Linked DNA regions of Homo sapiens: region 1 is linked to region 2. Evidence: promoter capture Hi-C in 16 types of primary human blood cells and fetal thymus (Javierre and others, 2016). All regions are on one chromosome and are shown on one strand. Each heading gives the region's core, a stretch centred on a gene start or on the middle of the fragment in contact. The rest is flanking DNA. Distances are from core to core; before and after follow the strand shown.

Region 1 (5,427 bases), core at 790-3,289, 1.1 Mb before region 2:
GCATGCCTTATCCAAAATGCTTAGGACCAGAAGTGTTTCAGATTTCGAATTTAAAAAAATATATATCTGCACTATATATTTCCAGTGGAACATCCCAAATCTAAAAATCCAAAATGCTTTAATGAGCACTTCGAGTGTCACATCAGTGCTCAGTTTCAGATTTTAGAACACTCAATCTACAGTTCAGAGAGCATTAAATGGAAGATATTTCAAAACTAAATAAAAATGTAAAATAAACTTACTTTGTAAGTTACAAGCATGTTAAGAGGAACACTGATTACTTTTTTACTGCTTACTAATTTTATCTCATCATTTTTATTTACTAACTAAAATAATGCAAAATACAAAAATCTAAGAGGCTGTTCTCAGATCAATTTACAATAATGTACTAATGCCAGTTTCCAAAACTTAACACATTTTGTAAAAGTGAGCACTATCTTTTTATTTTTGTTTACATAAGTCAAGTAACTTTTAACAGAAATTTAAGAAATATTTCTCCTACTTGTGTCTGTAATTAAAAAAAAAATACTATTTTGTTCAGATCAATAATTCAAATAAAATTTAAACTATAATTTTGCACATTTAAGAATAAGCATGAATTTAACAGTGTTGTGCAATCAAAGTAAGCAAGCTACAAGCAAGAGCTGAAAAGTAGAATTCCTTATCTTACTTAAAACTTGACTTACTGGTATCTTTCTACATCTATGAAATTTATAGAAGGAAAAATAAATAACTCATTTTAAAAATAGAAACAATGAAGCTAAAAGTAGTCTGACAGGTATCATTTTCTAGTTACCACTGGTAGTGGCTATTGCTGGTCAATCCCCCTTGAAATAAATTTCAAGAACTGTTTTACTTTTTATTACAGTACCAAAAATAATATTTGCTTGTACCTTCATTTAATATTGGTAAATATCTTCTTGTTCCATTTCTATCTTTCTAATCAACCGGTGTTTGTATGGTACTGAAGACTATTCCAGACTCACTCAACAGCTGTTACAAAATACCAAACTTGGTAATTAAGTCTGACAAGAGGCATACCTCTCAGCTTTGCATAAAAGAATGCTGGCAATGGATCTAGTTCATAAAAATGTTCTCAAGTCAAAAATAAAATTTAGTAGCAATTTAGTTTGAGAGCAGTGAAAAAAAATTAGAAAACACTTCATTAGGTGATAGTGGTATTCTCCTATAAGCAACACTATAAACTAATAGTACAAGGTCTTCAGTCAACTGCAGCACCCGATTTACCACTACTTATCCTCTAATGCCCCAAAGCTATACCAGTAATAGGTAAATGAAGAATACAAATGAAGGCAATAAAAAGGGGGAAAAGGTAATTAAAGGTCTGGAATACTCCATCTTCACCTTTTCCCCCTTGACCTTTTAATCAATATACTTGCATTATAAAGTATAAAAAGGAAAAAGAATGGCAATTCTTTTTTTTTTTTTTTTACACTCTCGGAGGGGGAGAGCGAACTGCCCTCTGCAAGATGAGATCAGCCAGAAATTAAGTTTAAATTAATTAAAATTAAAAATTGAGTTTCTTAGCTACATTTTAAGTACTCAGATACATGCGGCTAGTGGCTACCATACAGTACAGACCTAAACAACACTGTAATTCAGCTATCCTCCGACCTTTTTTATCTGAGGACACTTTTACACTCAAAATACTGAAGACCTCGAGATTTTATCTGTATTTATCATATTTGAAATTACAAAGAAAACTTCAAAATTATTAATTCATTTAAAATAATACACCCATTACTGCAACCATAAATAACATTTTTTATGAAAAATAACTGTTTTTTGAGACAAGGTCTCGCTTTGTTGCTCAGGTTGGAATGCAGTGGCATGATCATGGTTCACTGTAGCTTAGATCTCCTGGGGTGTGATCCTCCTACCTCAGCGTCTCAAGTAGATGAGACCACAGGCACGCATCAGCACACCCAGCTAATTTTTTGATTTTTTTTTTTAGAGACGAGGGTCTCACTATGTTGTCCAGGCTGGTCTCAAACTCCCAGACTCAAGAGATCCTCCTGCCTTGGCCTCCCAAAGTGCTGGGATTACAGGCATAAATCACCATGCCTGGCCAAAAATAACTTAAAATAAAAAACAAAAAGTAAGTAGCTTTGTTTTTTACATTTTTGCAAATCTTATTATACTTGATTCAATAGAAGGCAGCTGAATTCTCCTTCCTCTTTCAATCTATTGGAATAACCCATCTATACATAGCTCCTAACTCCTCTGTACACTTTTGAAAGTGACAAGGCAAATAATGTCCCAGTATTATTTTCAAAACAGTTTTGTCTTTACAGATCCTGTGAAAGGCTCTTGGGACTCCCAGAATCCGGGTCAGAGAGTTTGGTTTTTGAGAAGCGCAGCTGTAATTCATCAACTGTAATTAATAACAACCAAATTCTATCCCCATGCTTATATAAGTTTTAGCTTCTAAACATAAACATCAGGGTGTAGATGACAAATTATGATTCTAGCCTAGGAGCTGTGGCTCACACCTATAATCTCAGCACTTTGGGAGGCCAAGGCAGGTGGATCACCTGAGGTCAGGATTTCAAGACCAGCCTGGCCAACATGGTAAAACCCCATTTCTACTAAAAATACAAAAATTAGCCAGGAGTGGTGGCTCACGCCTGTAATCCCAGCTACTTGGGAGGCTGAAGTGGGAGAATCACTTGAACCTGGGAGGCAGAAGTGAGCCAAGATTGTGCCACTGCACTCCAGGCTGGGCGACAGAGGGAGACTCCATCTCAAAAAATAAAATAAATGTAAAAAAAATAAAAATTATGATTCTGTAAGTAAAACAGTATTTGTCTACTCACAGATAAATGGTTTTTAAAAAGCTCTTCTTAAGCATTTCTTTGCATCCTTTTGAACATTTTGCTATAGATGACACAAGGAATCATTTTAAACAATTATCAAACATGAGGAATTATTTTAAATAGTTATCAAGAACATTCTGCTGCCTGCCCTTCTCCACCAACCAAATTTGTTTCTAAAATAGTTTTATGTTGAATGATTCTGATTGGCTATTTACACACTGACTGATGTGACCATGTAACTCAGTTTTTACATGAATTTTAGTACCAATGCTGCAATGAATTGTGAAGGGTAATTTCTTAAATTCATTTTCAAATGAGCTTTTTAAAAAGAAAACTAGTGTCATTCCTTGAGTTTCATTTTAATGTATCTATTCACATACTGCTTTTAACTTCTTTTCATACTGCTAATTTTTTTTCAATTTGATCTTTTCAAGATTGAGACTACATATTCCAATTTATAGTAAATCAGAAATGAGATTTTCAATTTCATAATGAACTTTAATAAAATAGATTTGTTTTCTGTCAGTGAAAATATTTAGGCTAAATTTCCAGAAAAATTTCACCTTCATTTAATAACTGCATTGTTGACCAAAACTTCTGATTACCTTATTTCGCAAATGTAAAAATAAAATAAAATAAGAAAAGACAAATAAAGGAAAAAGTCAAGAAAGGTATACTTGAGAATAAGGCAGAAATCTTCCAGAAAATCCAGACTGTTCATACACAATACTTTAACATAAATATTAGGAAAGTAACAATGCTAGACATTTGTTTTTCCTATATTAAGCTATATACACTAGAAATGAGCCTAAATTATTAATTAGACTATATTACAGACTTAAACATATAAAGAGCCTCAAGTTCCAATTTGGCACACATTTTTATTTTCAAAGACTGGATAAAAGAAGTTAACCTACCAATTACATAACGAACTTATAGACATATTCATTCACATGGTGTAATATTAGAAAAAAAAAAAAAAACCCAAGGAGAAGCCCTACCTTTCCATTAAGTATTTCCAAGCCACTTATTTTAGAGCTTTAAAAGTCATTAGCAATCATCTAGTCAACCCTGTCTTCTTAGAGAAAAATGAAGCCCTAAAGATGTTAAGTCACTAGCTAGTTTAGTGACAGCTAGATATAGATCCTCAACTCTTCAGGGTCAAGGCTCGTTCTCATACATCATATTGTCCATGAAATTTTAAAGTACGTCGAGTCTTTACTACAAACATACTTTGTAAAATGACAGTGAGTTTTAATAAATAAGCTTATTTATTTCATCCTTTACTCAAACTCCTCTGGCAGCATAAATGTTTATAGCTAAAGGAATGCACATGTGATACTTAACACCTCAAAAGGAAGAAAAGCAAAAGTATATTCGAGCTTAACATGTACCTTAACATGTAGCGACAGTGATAATATTAAGTGTTATATACTTGCTTAGAAACATGTTATGCTGAAAATATTAACCTAAAGCTTATCTCCTCTAGAAGTTGTATAAATATCATTCTACACTAATCATCAACCCATTATAGCAATCACTGGAACTATTTTTTACATTTATACATTATATAGATTTTCACCTGTCTCCCCAGACTGTAAAATCTTTGTGAGGAAGAATTCTCTGTCACACCTGATGACCTCCCTCAAGGAGATAAAAAGGTATTCTGTCCATTACACAAATACAAACTTTAGAAACATTATCCTACCAATGCTATTGAAAATTGGCAGCAATAAAAATTTAGAATCATGATTCCTAATCTTCTGGGCCATCTTTCCTCCCTAACTTTTAACACACTGAATAAACCTTGGGTAAAAGAGCAAACCTCTCTCAAGTTTCCTTCTAAAATAAGGCTTGTAAGGGAGCTTCAGATTACATGAACATAATTGGTGACATAACTTGAAAATAACTGTATGTAAAACATATTCTTTACAGAACATTATTATCATAAACTTTAAGATTCGTATATAGTACAGAAATGCAGTAGAGCTGGAAAACAGCACTTTTTAAAACCCCTTATCAAAAGACAAAACTTTTGTCTTTTCAAACCAAAGACAGTCTTTTATATACACACATATATACTCCAAGGAGAATACCTACAGGCCATATTCAGTTTCACCGGTAATTCCAAAAGCTTACGAAAAAATAGTTTCCAATGGCAAAGTGAAGCCCTCCTACCTTTACAGTATTTTTCAAAGTTTTGATGCAAAGGCATTCTAAGGTTCTTTCCGTGTGTTCGCAGCCACTGGAAACAACATCTCTTGAACTGTACATATTCAATATTCACAGAAATATCATTGACCCAACAACTTCACGTATCGTTAGTACCAATAATATAAAGCCAAAAATTCCATCCCTTAATTCATATTGTAGTAATGGACAATATATACAAAGGAATCAAGTTCTCATTGTGCTCTCTTACTAAACTTAAGTTCTTGTTCTGACCAGAAAGCAACTGTCAAACAGATGTGTTTTAATCACTACTCAGTAAACTGCATTTTCCTTTGGAACCTCTGAAACACATATTTTTACATTTTATAGAATAAAAGACTGGTCACCACTGTGTTGTACTCAATACATACATATTATT
Region 2 (5,361 bases), core at 1,590-4,089:
AGCCCAAGATAAACAAATTGTTCCTCTTCACGTGCGGGGTGGGGGGACGTGGGGAGCGAGCACTGCGGCGTCGCCTCCCCTCCCCCAAGCCGACTCTTTGTCACCGAGCGCCGGCCCGAGCCCCCGGCGAAAGCCCACGGCAGCACTGGCACCACCCCGGCGCCGGGGACTCACAGACCGGGAACGTGTGCGATTTCTAAACCGCACGACGGGAGGGCCGCCCCTGCCGGGCTCTGCGCCGCCGATCGCTGGGCGGTCTGCACGGGAAACAGGCGAAGGCGCGCGGCCCCGGCACGCTCCAGGATTCCCGTCGCCTGGCCCACCCAGCACCCGGGCGGCGCGGTGCGGGGGGGGGGGGCACACACCTTTCCCAAGCTTCCGGCCTCCCCTCACCCAGAAAGGAAAGCAAAAGAACCGGAGAGGGGAGATAAGAGAAAGGATTCTAGCCTCCGGCTTGGGGGGTGGGAACTGCCCCTTCCTCCTGGAGAAGTTAAGCCATTGGCTGCTCATCCTACCTCGAACCCGCCCACCCAGCCATTTAAGCCTCTTTTACCTCCCTGCTACCTTCCATTGCTCTGGGCTTATTAAGCAGGCCCCCAAAGTTGGCGGGCAGCGGGGCAGGGGGCGCCAAGCGGAGAAAGACTCCGTGCACGCAAGTTTAAAAGGAAAAAAGGAAAGAATCCCAAGCGAAGTTGTGTGGTGGGGCCTCTTGGCGCAAACCCTGGGTATTGCTTTCCCCTCCCGCCCCCTCCAGGCCGCTCCCCTCTTAACCCTCCCAGCCGCTCCACCTGCCGGGCTAGCCCCGAGTCGCGAGCAAAGAGCGGAGCGCACCCGCGCCCCGCATCCGCGCGCGCTCCCGCGAGCACCCCCGCGCGCAGCCACCCTCGCTCGTTTCTCACCCACTTCAAAGTTCATTCACAAAACTCTCAGACTTTCTCAGCCCAAAGGGGGTGAGCTGGGGAGAGGAGGCGAGAGGCTCTCCTTCCCCGCTTCCCCCCTAGGGGTTGAGGGCCTGGTGCCCGCCCAGAACCTGCGACAGCATCAATATTTCCACGCACCCGGCGGATGTGCTGAGAGGGGTGGGCGTAGGGGGACGGGTCTGGGGAGGCGAGGCGGCGCGGCTAGAGGTGGGGTGGGGAGCGGCGAAGAGGAGGAGCAAGGTTTCAACTCAGGGGTTCACTCTTTCAAATCGGTATCTTAAGAAAGGGAAGGGGGGAAACTTTTCCAGCACCTCACTCCGACGCTCCTCTAGGCTCCCTCCGCCCCTCGCAGTCGTGACTGGCTTCTCCCCTCTCGCCCCCTCCTCCCCAAATCTGACAACCCTGACAGATTAACAGGTAGCGACGACGGCAGCTTTTTCCCTAAGAAAAGTTGACGTTAACCCTTAGGCTTCAGCCCACCTCACCCACCGTGCAAATCAGACCCTTGTACCCCCATGTAAGAAGCTCCACGCGCCCCCCACCACCACCACCACCCCCAACGCGCGCCGCAAGCCCGCTGCCCGTGCGCCCTCACCATGATCAGCGTGTGGTTCCTCTGCTCCGCCGAGGCAGCCTCCGCATCTTGCTGGGGTTTGCTCGGGTGCTGCTGTTTGCCGGTGCCGGCGCCCGATTTCTTGGCCCTCTGCTCCAGGGTCCGCTGGTAGAGGCTCACGGTGTCCCGGCGCTCCAGCTCCAGCTGCTCCACCTGAGCCTGCTGGTACCTGTTCTCGCAGTTGACGTGGTGCCGACGGCAGCCCTCGATGCGCTGGCGGAGCCGCTCCACCACGGTGCTGTGCTTGGGAACGGCCGCCGAACCGCCGCCGGGGCCCCCGGAGCCGCCGCATCCACCGGCTGCCGGGTGATTGCTACTCGGAGCAGCGGGAGTACTATTGGGAGTATTATTCACACCGATCCCGGCCCCGCCGAGGCTGCTGTTCAGGCTACTGTTGATGCAAATACTACTGCCATTCGCGGCAGCAGCGGGGGCTGCGAAATCCCCCATCCTGCTCCCCGGGCACACTATTTTGGAAGAACTTTTTTTATCCACCCCCCTATCAGCCTCCTCCTTGGGTCCAAGGATTAAAATAGTTTAAGTGGAACGCGGGGGAGACGCAAGCACATGGATGGAAACGGCGATCCCGACGGGGCGAAAAAAACGGGGGGGGAGATTTTGGGGTGGTTTTTGTTTCCTTTTTTTAAACTGTAAAAGCTCAAGGGGAAGAAAAGGGGGGAACGTTATCGGAATACCATCAGACACCTATCAACAAAAAGAATCACAACAAACTGAGCCAGCAGCAAATCGGGTTGCAACTCAAGGGGAGATCCGCTCCTTGCTTGCCTTCTTTTTATAATCCATTATTTTCTAATAAATTCCAGGAGATTTCCGGTGGTTGGCAAGCATTTTCTCCCTACATACCGAAAAACACACCCCATGTACACACACAAGCATATGCCTCCAGTGCGGACACGCGCGACACACACTCACTCCACACCGCATCGGAAAACGGCAAGCTTGCTTATTGCATTTTCCTTCCACAAAAAAGTTTTGGTGTTTATGCCGCCCCGTGTTCTCAAAGTACTTTGGCTGCTCAGTTGCATTTCACAGGAACCTAGATATCGAATCCTCGGGCTGGGGGAAGTAAACACATGGACAGTCCGAGGCGACTGCAAAAGTAGATCGGTGAAGTCCTTTGCAAAACGCCGCGCAGAGAGCAGCACCTAACGCTCGGCTGGGCTGCCGCTGCCGCCGCTGCTCCTGCCACCATCACAATGATCAACTGCTCGCCGCCGCCGCCGCCGCCGCCTCCTCCTCCTCCTCTCGCTCCTCCACCTCCTCCTCCTCCTCCATGCCAGCGGAGTGATATCAGGACGCGCGAGCTCAGTAAACACGGCAGCGGCGGCGGCTGGAGGCCGTGAGACAGGCCCGCGGACACGGCGCAAAACCCGGCCCGGACTCTCACCCGGCAGGAGCGGGCGCGGCACGCACCAGCACCCGGCTCCCGTCTCCGTCGCCTCGGCGCCCGGCGCCCCTCCTACGCCCCCAACCACACTACCGCCCCGCCGAGAAGCCCAGAGCCGTCGGCGACGGAGAGAAGAAAGATTCTGGGGGGATCTCAGAAATAAATCAACTTTTGACCTGTGTGTGTGCGTGAGAGCGTGTGTGAGTGTGTGTGTCTGTGTATGCGCGCGCGCGTGCGCGGGGACGCGCCTGGTAGGGTTTCCTTATTCCAAGGAAAGTATCAAGCGATCCCAAGTTGTTGTTATACATTTATGCATTATATTGCAGAACTGTGCATGACCAGGCAGAAACATTGAAGCTTTACAGCAGTTGTCTGTCATCCCTATCCATGTGGAAAGAAAAAGGCAAATGAGTGACTTGTTTTTAAAACCCAGGTAATAAGTCTGCGCTAGTAACAGCGCTACTTACGGACACTTGTTCCAAGTCTAGGCCAGACTGAACACACAAATACCAAATTCTAAATAAATAGAAATAGGCATCAAAAATGTGTAATATTTAACTCACTGTACATAATGATTGTTGTTACTAAGTCAATTATTGTTTTACTTACCCTTGGAAAAAAATAAAGCAAGCAGGGACTTGGAGGTGAGACTAACAGTACATTTAAACAGACTGTTTTGAACACTAGGTGCTAATGACAGCAGTAATTAAGGTCCTTCGTAAATCAAGTGGAAAGATTGCAGATTTCATAGACTAGAACTATAGAAAAAACACAGCATTTCACAGTTTGTCATGACCAAAACAAAAACAAGCAAAAATAACAGGCCTACTTTATTGCTGGATATATTTCTTTCCATTTCAATGAATTCACAATAAGTACAATTAAAATGGACTAGCAACTGCAGAAATCAATCTAAACTTTCCATTTTATTAAAGCACATTATCTTTCCCGATATTATCTAAAAACAAAAATAACAACTAAGGATCAAATATTCTTGAATATGGACTTAAACCATTGCATATACATATTTTTAAAAATTAAGATGGAGAAATTATTATTTCTCTAATAATCAGTAAACTATAAATCTTGATTGTGAGATGTTAATTATAAGTCATTTTGTATTATTTCAATAAATCTTAAGAATTAGTTTTTAGGGTAAAAATACACCCCAGTTTTCTAAAATAGCCAGGAATAAAAGAACTTTGGATCTTATGCATTAGTCATGAGATCTGATTTAAACCATCTTCATTTCTTGGCATTGCAGATTAGCACAGGATGCTATTTCTAACCTCATAATGTCAGCGATAAGAAGCTATATTTTTCTTCAATTAATCAGTTCTATATAGTGAACGATATTTTTAATATTCACTGGATATATGGCAAAATGGGCAGCAAAATATTTAATACGGTGTGAGGCTACTTCTAAGCAGTAAAACCAACTTAAGAGAGTGTATATTTCATTGAAGTTGCCACACTTTTTCTGAAGGCTATTTAGTTAATATACAAATTTCTGTATCAAACTGCCCTTCTTCAAGTCTCAGTCAGAAAATTTAACTGGACTACGTCTGTAGCAAAAGAGCCCGTTCAGATTCTGAAAATATGTAGAGAATTTTAAGAAATTAGAAAAAGAGGTAGCAAAGTGGCCTTTATCTTTTTCACATATTCACTAAATAATATCTCTATTAACTCAGGAAACACATGGCTTCGCCACAGAGGGGAAGCTATGACTCTGCATTCGCTTTGCTCTCTCTTCACCGTAGTTTAATTCTTTTTTTTTTTTTTTTTTTTGAGACAGAGTCTTGCTCTGTTGCCTAGGCTGGAGTGCAGTGGCGCCATCTTGGCTCACTGCAACCTCTGCCTCCCGGGTTCCAGTGATTCTCCTGGCTGAGCCTCCTGGGTAGCTGGGATTACAGGTGCACGCCACCACACCTGGCTAATTTTTGTATTTTTAGTAGAGACGGGGTTTCACCATGTTGGCCAGGCTGGTCTGAAACTACTGACCTCAGATGATCCACCTGCCTTGGCCTCCCAAAGTGCTGGGATTACAGGTGTGAGCCACTGCGCCTGGCCACACTGTAGTTTAATTGTTATCCCTCCTCCTTCACTTGCCTCCATCACCCACAAAAGACTGCAGTTTGATTTACAGAGGCAACAAATTTGAGGGTCTTAAGCACTGGGTCTTTAGTTTTTGAGACTTGGGTTCTCATTTTAGCTTTTTCCTGTGACTCAGAATTTAATTATTCATTGAGAGTTTCTCATTCTGGGGAAAAAATGACAACAATAGCAGCACCATGTATTCCCTTCAAGCTGTTTACCTCTCCTACCATGAAGGGAAACCAAAAAGACACAAGAATTTGCATCCTTCCCTTTGGGGAACCAGCAGGTGGGACAGCACACTTTGTGGTTTTACCACAGAGTTC

Evidence for each region. The method cuts DNA at HindIII sites, captures the fragments that hold promoters and counts their contacts. A CHiCAGO score of 5 or more calls a contact.
Region 1: a contact is called between a fragment that was not itself captured here and the fragment with the promoter of MAML3 in region 2, in 1 of 17 cell types (fetal thymus). The highest score is 8.2, in fetal thymus.

Annotation. Positions count from the first base shown.
Region 1 is chr4:139,077,139-139,082,565 of GRCh38, forward strand. All of the region lies in intron 4 of ELF2 (E74 like ETS transcription factor 2), which reads right to left. Among named protein-coding and RNA genes, the nearest start is that of NOCT, 64 kb to the left of the region's middle. The HindIII fragment of the contact is 4,123 bases long and covers 1-4,101 here.
Region 2 is chr4:140,151,345-140,156,705 of GRCh38, forward strand. MAML3 (mastermind like transcriptional coactivator 3) reads right to left here and starts at 2,840. Exons shown (of 5, transcript NM_018717.5): 1 at 1,516-2,840. The coding sequence starts at 1,983. RefSeq lists an enhancer at 1-401. The HindIII fragment of the contact is 806 bases long and covers 2,491-3,296 here.